Linked DNA regions of Homo sapiens: region 1 is linked to region 2. The links are contacts of gene promoters, found by promoter capture Hi-C in human tissues and cell types (Jung and others, 2019). All regions are on one chromosome and are shown on one strand. Each heading gives the region's core, a stretch centred on a gene start or on the middle of the fragment in contact. The rest is flanking DNA. Distances are from core to core; before and after follow the strand shown. Region 1 has its middle 50 kb from the start of PPARG. Region 2 holds the start of TIMP4 (TIMP metallopeptidase inhibitor 4).

The links. Contacts are between HindIII fragments. The study calls those that stand out against the background at their distance.
Region 1: a fragment that was not itself captured here is called in contact with the fragment with the promoter of TIMP4 in region 2 in 6 of the 25 tissues and cell types used here (IMR-90 fibroblasts, adrenal gland, aorta and 3 more).

The regions. Positions count from the first base shown.
Region 1 is chr3:12,235,232-12,242,304 of GRCh38, reverse strand. No RefSeq gene overlaps it. Among named protein-coding and RNA genes, the nearest start is that of PPARG, 50 kb to the left of the region's middle. The HindIII fragment of the contact is 6,139 bases long and covers 1-5,527 here.
Region 2 is chr3:12,156,162-12,162,521 of GRCh38, reverse strand. It overlaps TIMP4 (TIMP metallopeptidase inhibitor 4), which reads left to right and starts at 3,610. Exons shown (of 5, transcript NM_003256.4): 1 at 3,610-3,820; 2 at 5,040-5,137; 3 at 5,588-5,702. The coding sequence starts at 3,682. It overlaps SYN2 (synapsin II), which reads right to left. Exons shown (of 13, transcript NM_133625.6): 6 at 914-976; 7 at 368-510. The HindIII fragment of the contact is 15,405 bases long and covers 1-6,360 here.

The sequences.
Region 1 (7,073 bases), core at 1,209-3,708, 81 kb before region 2:
GAGACATGACAACTAAAAGCAATTTCTGACACTAGACTGGATCCTGTTCTAGAGAGAAAGATATACCCAAAAACCATTTTTGGATCAGTTGACAAAATTGGAATATGGATGGTAGATTAGATAGAACACTTGGCCCAAAAAATATATACATAGACTCTCTCTCTTTCTGTCTCTGTCTCTCATGTGTGTGTGTGTGTGTGTGTGTGTGTGTATAAAGCAAACAGAATAGAAAAGAGAATCTGGGTGGAGATTGTATGAGTGTACCATGTGATATTCTTGCAGTTCTTCTGTAATTTTGACATTATTCACAAATAAAAAGGTTTTTTTAAAAATTGCCTCCCACTTACTTTTTCTTAGGAAGTTTAAAAAATTGCTTCCCACTTACTTTTTCTTAGGAGGTTACTACAGAATGTGCTCCAACAAAACGGCGGAGTAAACTAATTACGAAGAAGGCAAGAATCCAGGAACCAGGGGAACCAACACCAGAGAAAGGGAGGGCAATTCTCAGGATGACAGTAGAGGCAAGGTTGACACAGGGTAGGAGGCCAAAAAGGGCAACTAGTCCCACCTGGAGTGGAAGGATAGAAGGGTTCCCAGAGAGATGTCACCCCCGAAATTATATCTATAGGTTACCTATCCGATGTGTCTGTGTTGAACTGAGTTTTACAGTTCTTTAGAGAATTTGGGAAGAATTGGTGGTAGTAAAAACAAACAAATGAGCAAAAATGAGGCAATTAGTAACTCGAGAAAAATTAACTTGTACAAAAAAAGTAAGTGGGAGGCAATTATTAACTCGAGAAAAATTAACTTGTACAAAAAAAGGAATATACATATAATGTACTATGTGGCTTGCTCATGAACAATATTTACGTGGTAATAATAATGTAAAAATGGCTAGGCACAGTGACTCATGCCTGTAATCCGGGGGCTTTGGAAGGTTGAGGTGGGAGGATCATTTGAGCCCAGGAGGTCAAGGTTGCAGCAAGCCATGGTTATACCACTGTATTCCAGCCTGGCAACAGAGCAAGACCCTCCTCTAAAATAATAATAATAATGTAAACACAGAACATTCATTTTTCCAAAAATTATGATAAAACTATATTGGGAGGCCCAGCATAATGGCTTATAACCTGTAATCCCAGCACTTTGGGAGGCCAAGGCAGAAGGATTGCTTGAGTCCAGATATTCAAGAGCAGCCTAGGCAACATAGTGGGACCCCATCCCTACACCACACACACACACACACACACACACACACACACACACACACAAGCCAGGCATCATGGGGTGTACCTGTGGTCCCAGCTACTCAGGAGGCTGAGGTGGGAGGATCATCTGAAAATAGGGGTTTGCAGCTGCAGTGAGCCATAATCGTGCCACTGCACCCCAGCCTCAGTGACAGTGCAAGACCCTGTCTCAGACACACACACACACACACACACACACACGCACAAACTATATTGAAAGAAAGAGAAGAATAAAGGAAAGGAAAGAAGGTGGCGGGTGGAGAGTAAGCGTACTAAATTAACAGCTTCTGTAGCTTCAAGTTGGGAGATTCCTGAGGCTATTAAAAAGGCAACGTAGGCCAGGTGCGATGGCTCACGCCTATAATCCCAGCACTTTGGGAGGCCGAGGTAGGCGGATAACCTGAGGTGAGGAGTTTGAGACCAGCCTGGCCAACATGGCGAAACCCCATCTCTACTAAAAATAAACAAAATTAGCCAGACATGGTGGTGGGTGCCTGTAATCCCAGCTACTTGGGAGGCTGAGGCAGGAGAATCACTTGAACCCGGGAGGCGGAGGTTGCAGTGAGCAGAGACCATGCCACTGTACTACAGCCTGGGCAACAGTGTGACACTCCATCTCAAAAAAAAAAAAAAAAAAGGCAATATAAGCATAGCATTTAGAAGTATGGAAAGAAATATCAGAAGAAACAGAAGACACAGTAGAAGAAAGAGGTGAAAATCATTAAGATGTATCTGAGAAGCAGAATGCAGGGATGGTGGTTTGGGGGAATTTAGTTTCTTATGCCAGTTTTTAAAAACTGTGAGTGTGGTGTGTGGTGCGTGTGTGTGTGTGTGTGTGTGTGCTGGTTTTGAGAGGGAGAGGGAAAGGCAGGGATTGGGGCTTGAATAACAGGCATTTGCAGAACTAAAGGAGGCTGTACTCATTACATGTGTTGCAATGTGCTTCTGCTTAAGAATATTGTTGGCCAGGCACAGTGGCTCACGCCTGTAATCCCAGCACTTTGGGAGGCCGAGGCAGGCGGATCATGAGGTCAGGAGATCGAGACCATCCTGGCTAACACGGTGAAACCCCGTCTCTACTAAAAATACAAAAAAAAATGCCAGGTGTGGTGGTGGGCGCCTGTAGTCCCAGCTACTTGGGAGGCTGAGGCAGGAGAATGGCGTGAACCAGGAAGGCGGAGCTTGCTGTGAGCCGACCTCGCACCACTGCACTCCAGCCTGGGCGACAGAGTGAGACTCCGTCTCAAAAAAAAAAAAAAAAAAAAAAAAAAAAGAATATTGTTATGACCCCAGTGCAGTGTGATGTCTAAAACTAAGGAGGAGAAGCACACGGAAAAGTGTTCTCCCCAAGAGAGGTTGTTGCCTGTAGTTTTCAATACAGGACAGGATGGAAATGGGGGAAGCATAGGGAAGATGTTTGTTTGATTTGAACAAATGAAGTGCTCAACCTCCTCGTGGGTTCAGCAGGGGAATCGTTTCACCTGCAGGACAGCTGTAACACAGCAAGGCACAGAGGAGTGTGGACATGTCATTCGGGCTTCCAGCTGAGATTTCCCTGGGGACTTGGGAAAGCCAAGGAGAAGGGTGTGGGTGGTGCACAATCTCTCCGTCTGGTTGGTGGAAATTTCAAGGCTAAGCAGAAATATGCTGAATTTTCTTTGGCAATTAAAAAACGTGTAAGAATACCAGTGATTTCTTAATCCAGTTTTGCAAGTACAAACAATGGCTGTGTATTATAAAAAGGGCTATTCAGATTTAGATTTCTTCATAGTTCCAATAAGGCAAAGATCAAATTTTAATGTCAAAAAAAAAAAAAAAAAAAAAGACAAGCAGACAACGAGTGAGAATGTTCTAAATACTTTAGGGACGGTTTAATTGCTTTTTGGTTATGTTGTTTCAGACTGTAATTCTTGCAAATGTAAAGTCAATATGCAAAATTGAGTTAAAATATAATAGTTATAAACGTTTTTACTCTCTCATGTTAATCTAAAATAAAATAAAGCCTAAGCTTTTTTGAAAGCTGATGATGCCCATGTATTGATTGGAAATGCTTCTTGATTATAATGTTAAATATCCCATCAAAACAAAAATTTTAAAGTCTATCATCTGGATGTTTTCAAACATCTAGATACACAGTGCCATGCAGACAAAACATCCAAACGGCATAACCCAAAACACACCGACAGTTGGTAGAACCTGGCACGTTGGGGCCAAATATTTGGGATGGTATGGCTAGATGCACACTGCACTTATCTCAGGCCTCAGCAAATGGGCTTTGTTTAAATATGCCTTAAGCGGGCTTGCCTTTTGCTGAGATGGGTTATAATTCTGACTCTTTGCCTTCATAATTATATGCATAAGTTTGAAAGTTTTATTTAGCACATTATGGGAAAAAAAAAAGCTTTGTACCCTTAGGTTTCCAAACTGGGATCAGGAATTGTTAAATTTATTTTAATAGTCAGCTTTGTCTCTAGTAGATACCTGTTAGCTGCATTTTTAGCATAATAGAAAGCAGCCAACCAGTGTGATCTAGTTGTCATTTTTTTAAAAACTGAGGACAATGCAAGAATGAGTATCCAGTACAAGAATGCGTACACTTTATAACCACAGCATTCCCCTGGAGAGATCACAGAGTGAGCCGAAAAGCGCAGCTTCCTCACCCACTCCATACTAGAGGAACATTCCCCTAAACTCATCCATTACCCCCATTTAAAAAAAAAGTGTATAAATTTAAGGGGTACAAGTGCAGTTTTGTTACATGGATGTATCGCCTAGTGGTGAAGTGTAACCATCACCCTAATAGTGTACATTGTACCTTTTAGGTAATTTCTCATCCCTCACCCCAAACATGCAGTTTTGACTTTCTGTTTCTGAGTTGTTTCACTTAAGATAGTGGTCTCCGGTTCCATCCCTGTTGTTGCAAAAGACATGATTTCATTCTTTTTCATAGCTGAATAGTATTCCATTGTGTGTGTGTGTGTCTCACATTTTCTTTACACCACCCCAAATTTGGAACTTAGGCAAGGAGGAAGAATTTAACCAAACGAGTGAAAAAAAAGAAACACTCCTCTTATCAATAATGCCTAAAGTTATTAATATATATGTTTACATACATATTTATGGACCTAGAAACCAACAACAAAAAACCTGGCTCTCATAGTTCTAATACATAAGTGAATAAATACCAAACCCAAACCATCCTATATGGTAAAGAAGAAACTAAGACTGAAATAAACAGGAAAACTTCCGAATTTTTTGTGTTGCTATGATCTTTAGTGAAAGAGATAATTTCTCCTGGCGCACGGCTACTAACTGTATTTTCACACGTGGCCCTGGGGGAAGCTTACACGTTCTTCCGTAACAACACAGGATTCTCTTTCCAGCACTACCCAATGTTTTGGTGCCCATCAAATAACAGAATCATAACATGAGAAAGCAGGAAAAGACACCACAGAGTGAATTCAGTTCAACTCTGTATTTCATCCACTAAGGCATTAAGATACAGAGGTGTTAAGTAACTGATCCATTGTCCAGAGCCAATGAGAGGCGGAACCCAGGCATCCTGTTTCCCAGTGCGGTGTTCCCCGCTGCTGTCCAGACATCTCACTATTCCTCTTTGGTAAGAGGGACTAAGTGTCAACTTGCAGCTCCTTCCTCTTCTCCACTTGCCTCTTTACCGTGTCTTTCCTTCAGATGTGCTCTTCCCTTGCCTCTCATCTTTTCCTTTCCTCCTCTTAAATGAATCCTGCCATTTCTAACCTGAGAAAATTTGAATCTCTGCTGACACAGCATCTATACACAACTTACTGATGTGTTTTAGAAAACATGAAGGCAAAATCATGCAATGGAAATAATATTTAATTTGGATTTAGGAAACCTAGTTTGTAATCCTGTTTTTTTTTTTGTTTTTTTGTTTTTTTGTTTTTGACAGAGTCTTGCTCTGTCGCCAGGCTGGAGCGCAGTGGTGCGATCTCTGCTCACTGCAACTTCTGCCTCCCTGGTTCAAGCGATTCTCCTGCCTCAGCCTCCTGAGTAGCTGGGACTACAGGTGCCTGCCACCACGCCTGGCTAATTTTTTGTATTTTTAGTAGAGACAGGGTTTCACCATGTTAGCCAGGATGATCTCAATCTCCTGACCTCGTGATCCGCCTGCCTCGGCCTCCCAAAGTGCTGGGATTACAGGTGTGAGCCACTGCGCCGAGCCGAGTGTTTCTTTTAATTTTCTATAACTTTAGGCAACTCACTTTGCAGCTCTAGGATCAGTTTGCTAATCTATAAAATTAGAGGGTTGGACTGGGTGATCCTTAAAGCCCCTCTATTTCTATAGTTGTATGGTTATTCTGCTTTTTAACAAATTTAACTGTGAAAACAAACAAATCCCCCATATGTTTCTTAATCTTCATTATTCCTTACCCACTGGAACAAATCTATAATCTTCGTGGTGTGCCTGTCTTAGCTTCCCTTTTCTACCCATCAAAATGGGAATTATCTCTATGTAGTTCTCTTTATGCATTGCTTACCACAGCACCATGCAGACTTAATGGCTTAATAAGGACTTTTCAATCTGATGACAACAATTACAAAATATAGTGCAAACGTTGACATTCTAATGCCTGGCATTTAAAAATCTTTACAGAAACCTCTTTATTTCATTTATTTATTTTGGTTTTGTTTTACTCTGCTTTCAAATACCAACATTAAAGCATTGGTTCCGGCAGAAGAAAATTAATTAAGGCTCTTTAGGGTCAATTCCTAACCAAAGTGCTAGTTAATTAATTTTAAGGGAAACCCAAGGGAGGCATCTTTCTTTCCTGGCCCCTAATATCCAGGTTTAACCTAGTCCATTCAAAAAAATATTGAAATTCAAGTGGATAAAAGAAGAGTTGAGATAGAGGCTAAAAGTTTAGCCCTTGGGAAGACTGTAGTATTTCTTCCTTTTTAAAGTGTATTTAAAAGAAAAAAAATTAGGAGATAAAAGGAGATAACTTGTTTGTAAATAAGACTTACTTAGGTTTATGGTCTCTAGGATTTGCCATAACATGTTCAACTAGAAAAGGAATTCCATACGATTCAAAAGGGTGCAGCGTGCCTTATGTCTAAAATGAAAGTTGAGAGCCAAAGAGCTGCCCAATAGCCAATATGAGTCATCATTCCAAATGATAAACAAAGGACAAAAATAAAATGACTGAGAGGAGAGAAAAAGCAGAATTACTGGAAGCTTTACTGGATTACCTAGGAGCGTTAGCTTAACTCCTCTTCTTATAGAATTGTGGATTTGCCTTTTGAAGAAATCCCAGCTACAAATCACCCTAACAGCTACCCTGGCTAGGCAGCTGCATCGGTTTGTTGGTTTGATAGCAGTCTGTGCGAGAGAGCTGATTTATTTGTACCATTCTTCCTTGGAAAACAAATTCTCATTTTGAACTTTCTCCTTCTTCATACTGGTGCTACAAAAACTGGGGGTGGCTTTAAATATGCCACAAGAGATTCTTGCTTTATTTGGCATGCCACTTCAAGGAGGGAGCAATAAAAGACATGATGAGGGCTACAGAGATCCCTGATCAATTGCCAAGTGCAATTGAAAACAATTAACACTATGTGATCTTTCATTCTCACAATTCAAGGTGAGTGAGAACAGAAAGTCCATTCATTAGTACAGAGACTGACACTTAGATATTTGGGTGTCTTGCTTATGAACAACAGATGAGCTATCACTAAAAAGGCATACAGAGAGCTGCATATCTTTGTATCACTGCATTCAGAATGACTAACAAATCTCCTCATCAACCATAACGCCAGCTATGAACTGACCCCAGTGCTTGAACA
Region 2 (6,360 bases), core at 2,361-4,860:
TACCATTATTTTAAAGTAGGAATGAGAATAATCCATAGAGATATGTGTCTCAACTATAAGATCTAAGATCTAAGAAAATCAGTAATCACCTTTAGTGACAAACTCCTATGTACAGGTAACTAATGTAGTCTGTCGTCTCTGTTCAAAATGAAGAGAAAGCTAAATTTCCCTTAGAGGCAAGTGAAAATGAATATTAATATATTTTCTCATCTTAGTCCACAGACCCCTCCTCTGACTTAAAAGGAACCCAGGTAAAAAAATCTCTGACTTAAGTGGCACCCTCTCTGTTATCTGAGAGTTGGCTGCAATGTGGAGGCTCAGCTTTTCCATCATCACTGAGGAGAAAACATACCCCACTCTTACTCACATGTAAGCCTTGTAGTTGTTGCCAATCTTCTGGACCCGGATGTCATACTTGGAGTCAATGAAAGGCTCTGCAGTGGCATAGGTCTGGGTGAGAGCCACCACGCTGGCAATGTCCTGGAAGTCGTAGTGGTTTTCCACTTTGACCTAATGTTAGAGCAGGGCAGAAAGGGGGAAAGGGAGACACACACATACACACACTGAGAAGTCACAAGGGCCCTGAGCCTCCAAACCCACCAATATGTATCCGATCCAGACACTAATCTGGGTGCCACATCTCCCCAGGAGGCCCCTTCTCCCTAGCTTCCCTTCCCAGAACTCAAGGGCCACACTTGCTGCAAAGGACCCAGAGGACCAAGCAGGTGGCTTGCATTCTGCTTACTGAAAGAGGTCTGGTTGGGTGACACTCATGGCTTTAGAGGTGGCAAATCATCTTCTCTTTGGAAAGAATTCATCAGTGACAGAGGGAGAATAGCAGTTCACAAATGGGCGCTCTGAAAACTGCCCTTCTTGGTTCAACCCTGAAGCACAGCAGGCCTCTCTGCCTCACCTTGCCCATGCCTGAGTGAGCGTGGCCAATCTTCACCACCACAGGGAACGTGGGCAGTGTCAGCTGAAATCAGAAGAGAAATGAATAAACTGTCAGAGTGTGCCCATCTCTCCGTGGAATCCTACACATATTTTTCTTGGGAATACCCTTGGGAGGGTTCTTTAAAGAACTAGTCCAATCTACTTGCTTTACAGATTAAAAAACTGAGACCCATGGAATGACAGTGAGTTCCCAGGGTCACAGAGCATATTAGTGGCAGTGCTACAAGAACCCTGTACTCTTATTTGGTATACCCTACATCTTTAAAATGCACTGTCAATTTTCTCTGCATTAGACAAAACCTGGGCAGGACTGGCCCTCAGACAAAGAGAATTAAAAAAAGAAAGTATCTCTGAAAGAGTGAACTTTACTATATGTAGATGTACTTTAATAAACCTGTATTTTTATTTTAAAAACACATCTTTGGCATCTTGATGTCCCTGTCAGCATGTACCCTCTTGGTACCTACAACCTTCAAAGGCCCAGCTTTCCTGTAATGATCCTGGTTGTTTTCTCCCTCTTTCACACTCTTCACTGCTCACCAATACCCCAATCTCACCACCAAACAAGGCTTTGCATGTGAAGGCCCATTTCTTCCCAGCTTGGGGTTTGAAAGAGAGCCGGTAGAAGAATTCAGTATGTTTATAAATGCAGAGAGATCCTTAGGGGAGCGAACTCTACACTGAGGTAGCCATACTTTAACAGAGGAGCAACAAAACCTTAAAAGAAGGATTATCCTCTAAGGGCAAGATTTCAAGCTGCTACAAAATGGTGATGTAAGAAGTAATATTGTGGAGTGGAAGGAGCACTGGGCTAGATGTCAGGAGACGAGTACTCTAGTCCTCTTCTGCCACGGACTTTCTACAAGTCACTGTATCTCACTGGGCCTCAGCCTTCACATCTGTCCAATGAAGAGATCAGATGGGATGCTTTCTGAGCTCCCTTCAAATAGTACATCAGCCTCTATCTTGGTCTGAACATTGTATGAAGAACCAGCCTGGATGCTAACCCGGGCATTTCATCTTTCAGTCAGACTCAGCTCTCTTTCAATTCCCTTCTTTTCAAATATCACTAACACCATCAAAATGAAAAGGTATCCTTTGAAGGAAATAATGTTGACCCTGATGAAAAGTCAGACTCCTATGGGAACTAAGATTTGAACAGATACTGGGGGTATCTGGCCTGAGGATCTCAGCATTCCTGGTTGAGGCCAGCCAAGGATGGGAAGAAGAACTTCAAAGGGCTTTAGAAATCACGTAGTTCAACTCTACTTTATGAAGAAAAAACTGAGGCCCAGAGAGGCAAAAGTCACAAAGCTACAGTGACAGTCAGAATTGGAACCCAGCCTCCCACTATCCAGTCCAGCACCATGTGGAAACATCCCACAGCAATAATCCCATGGAGATTTGGGATTTGGAGGCTTGCAACACTGTGCCCAAACAGCAGACAAGGCTCTGGTCACAGTCACCCCCAAGTCCCCTGCTTCTTTGTTTTTTCTTTTACTTTTTTTTTTTTTTTTTTTTTTTTGAGACGGAGTCTCACTCTGTCGCCCAGACTGGAGTGCAGTGGCACAGTCTCAGCTCACTTCAACCTCCGCCTCCTGGGTTCAAGCCATTCTCTTGCCTCAGCCTCCTGAGTACCTGGGACTACAGGTGTAGGCCACCACGCCCGGCTAACTTTTGTATTTTTAGTAGGGACGGAGTTTCATCATGATGGCTAGGGTGATCTCGAACTCCTGACCTCAGGTGATCAACCCGCCTTGGCTTCCCAAAGTGCTGAGATTACAGGCGTGAGCCACCACGCCCAGCCTGCTTCTTTGTTTTCTAAGCTGTCCCACCTTCTAGAACATGACAGAGTCTCCAGTGAGAAGGGACATGCAATAAAAATCAATGTAGTCTAGGGCCTCGAGAGGGCTTTGAGGTCCAAGGTTTGCCCTAAGTGATGGGACACTTTGTGTTTTGTACACCAAGAGCGCTGTCTCCAGCTATCTGGAGAGTCTGAGGCTCTGGGAGTGAGAAAGGGTTTCTAAAGCACTGGCTGCTTCTTTGACATCTCTCCCCACCCCCCAGGCAACAGAGCCAAGACACACACACCCCAACTTTCTCTGTCCTGTTCTATTACTGTTTGCTGTTGCTTTGGAGCCTCATAAATAGGGCATTGAAAGCACTTCCTGCAGCTGAAAGAAGCCCTGAGTAGCTCGTCTCATTCCCAGCGTGCAGCTCAGCAAGGGGTCCGTCCTTCTCTGTCACTGTCTCTTTTGCCTGTTGTAATTCTGTCTGCCTCTCTGGGACTCTGCCTGTCTCACTCTTTCTGTCTGTGCCTCTCCTCACTCTTGTTCTTTCTGCCTGAATCACAGCCCTCAGTTTTTCTGTCCTCATGCATTTGTCTTTGTGGCTCTTTCCGTCTTTCTGCCCTTGACACCATCCCCTCTCCCAGTGCTTCCCCTCTGCTTCCAGATCGCTTCATGACTTAGGCAGGGAAACAGAGGTCAGGGCCTCCTTCCAGGCTTCCCTCTGCATCTTACTGAGTATGCAGGTCGGAAGAGCCTCGGGTCCTGCCTCCGCGGGTGGCCTAGAGCCAAAGGAAGGCGGAGCCCGTCGGGGCGGGATTGGCCCTTAGGGCCACCTCATAAAGCCTGGGGCGAGGGGCACAACGGCCTTGGGAAGGAGCCCTGCTGGGGCCGTCCAGTCCCCCAGACCTCACAGGCTCAGTCGCGGATCTGCAGTGTCATGCCTGGGAGCCCTCGGCCCGCGCCAAGCTGGGTGCTGTTGCTGCGGCTGCTGGCGTTGCTGCGGCCCCCGGGGCTGGGTGAGGCATGCAGCTGCGCCCCGGCGCACCCTCAGCAGCACATCTGCCACTCGGCACTTGGTGAGTCCGAGGTCCGCGAGGTCCACAGCAGGGGGTGGTTGTGGGGGATTAGTATCTGGCCAGCAGTACACCAGGAGTCCAGAGGAAAAGGGAGGAGCTCAAATTCTTACCGGTTGTCTCTTGCTGAGGCTGATGGGTGGAGAAGGACCAGGCGCCATAGCAACCTTGCAAGCCCAGAACCTGACTGATTCATAAGGAAATGAAGATTTCATCAGGGACTTCCATAGCGACCTCCCTCACTCCGGCCATACTGCAATTATGGAGTGTCATTACACAAGGTGTCACCGGAGCTATCTGATGATTATTCTGAACTACTAGACTGGGGACAGAAAGGGGAGGGGAGAGGGCTTGCATTGTAACTACCCGTGTCTGTCCAGGCCTATAACTGAGGTTGCCACCAAGCCCCTATGGCAACACACACGTTCTGTCCTTTCTCTTCCCTCTGCCTGGAATGCCCTCCCTCACACCCTTAAATTCCTGGCAGACTCCTACTCATCCTTCAAGGGCTAACTTAGGTCTCTCCCCTTCTCTGCAGGCTCCCGGGCTCCTTGGTGCCGCCTCAGCATCTCTAACCGTCTTAGCGCTCCTACTATGCTGTGCTGTTGTTCTTTACACGTGTGCACTCCACTAGATCAAGAGCTCGGCAGGATGGGGACCCTGTCTTAATCACATCTATGGGCCTAGTGCCTAGTGCAAGGCCAGGCACAGAGGAAGAACATCATCAACAGTTTTTGGTTATTAATGCTCAAATGGCAAGAGATGCAATACCTCAGTGCAGGGTCAGAACATTTATGAATTCAATAAACATTTACTAATATCAACTGTAGGCGGGATGAGAGGCCTTGACCACAGCAATAGATAAACTTCACACCGACTGCCCTGAAGGGGCTCCTCCTCCCTTCTCTACTCTGACTCCTACCCTGTGCCCCACTGCACAAACGGCTATGGAGAACTAGAGCTCTCCAGACTAACTGGTTCAAAAGGCAGAAACAGCTTAGCGGTTATAGGACCTAATAAGCCTGAGGGGTTTGGAACTTCCAGTGACTGCAGGGGAGGTGTTTCCAGGTCCCCCTTCTCACACATCACGTTGCTCACAACCCAGCCACACCAAAACCAAGAACTGCCCTATAGACTTCTTCATGGACCCTGGATCATCCAGACCTCAGGTGTATTGCCCCCACCAGCTGCTGAAGGTTCCCTCTTTTCTCTTCCTATGCAGTGATTCGGGCCAAAATCTCCAGTGAGAAGGTAGTTCCGGCCAGTGCAGACCCTGCTGACACTGAAAAAATGCTCCGGTATGAAATCAAACAGATAAAGGTACATGGGGGCAGGCTGGGATGTGTAGCCCCTAAGGCTGATGGAGAAAGTGGAGTCTGTGTTCTGGGAGGGCTGGTAGCTTTCAGGTGGCCTGGCTCAGTAATCCTTGGGTCTAGATACTGAAGTGGAACTGGATGAGATTTGGAGGCAGAGCCCATAGAATCCCAGGGATATTGCCAGGGAGGGCCTCAGCATCCATCTGGTCCCACAGCTGCTGGTGTATGGTGCCACTACAGGTACCTACTGGAATAAACCAAGGTTTAGGTGTTTTTTGTTGTTGTTGTTTTGTTTTAAGAGAGAAAATAACCCAGTAGGGACATCTGAGGACACAAAATCCTCAACTAGACTTTTGCTTACATTTTTAGGCTGAGAAGTGAGAGGTTTTTGTCTGTTAATATATACAGTACACTCACTGACCCAATATTGCCTTTTTTTGTAATTGCCTGTCAGATGTTCAAAGGGTTTGAGAAAGTCAAGGATGTTCAGTATATCTATACGCCTTTTGACTCTTCCCTCTGTGGTGTGAAACTAGAAGCCAACAGCCAGAAGCAGTATCTCTTGACTGGTAAGTTAAAAGACCAACAACTGGCCTTAATATAATAGATTCTGCCCTAGGGGAGGTAGTGAGAAAGGAGCCAGGGTCTTCCTTGGGCAGTAGGCTGAGCCAGGTGGCATTTTCTTGGGCATAAAACAGAGCTGTGTTAGTGACAGACAACCTCTGGGTTAGGAGGAGCCTTGTAACCTCCCTTTAAATGTAAGAGTTCTTAGTACAGTGACCCTGGCCACCGTTTCACTATTTTAAGGACAGGCTGCTCACCCAGTGTAGGGCAGCTGCTTCCGTTTTTCAAATAGTTTAAATTAGTATAAGATTTTTGGCAACTTGAGTCGAAGTCTCCTCTCTAAAACTGCTCCTTGCAGGTCAACTCTGCCTTTTGCACAGGACTTAACAGGAGCTTGAGTCTAACATAGTTCTGTCTCTGTGAACTTGGGCCCAGGCAGGATTCCTCCATACTGAATTGGCTGGGATAGAACAGTTAAAGAATCACACAAAAATATGACTCCATAAATGAATGCAACATTAAATTATTTTGGAGTTCAGAGAACGGAACTATTTGGTAGTTGTGAACTATCAGGGAAGCTTCATTGTGTAGGTGGGATCTAAACTGGCCTGAAAACATAAAACAATATTTAGAAAGAAAGCAAGGGAAAGAAAAAGCACAGCA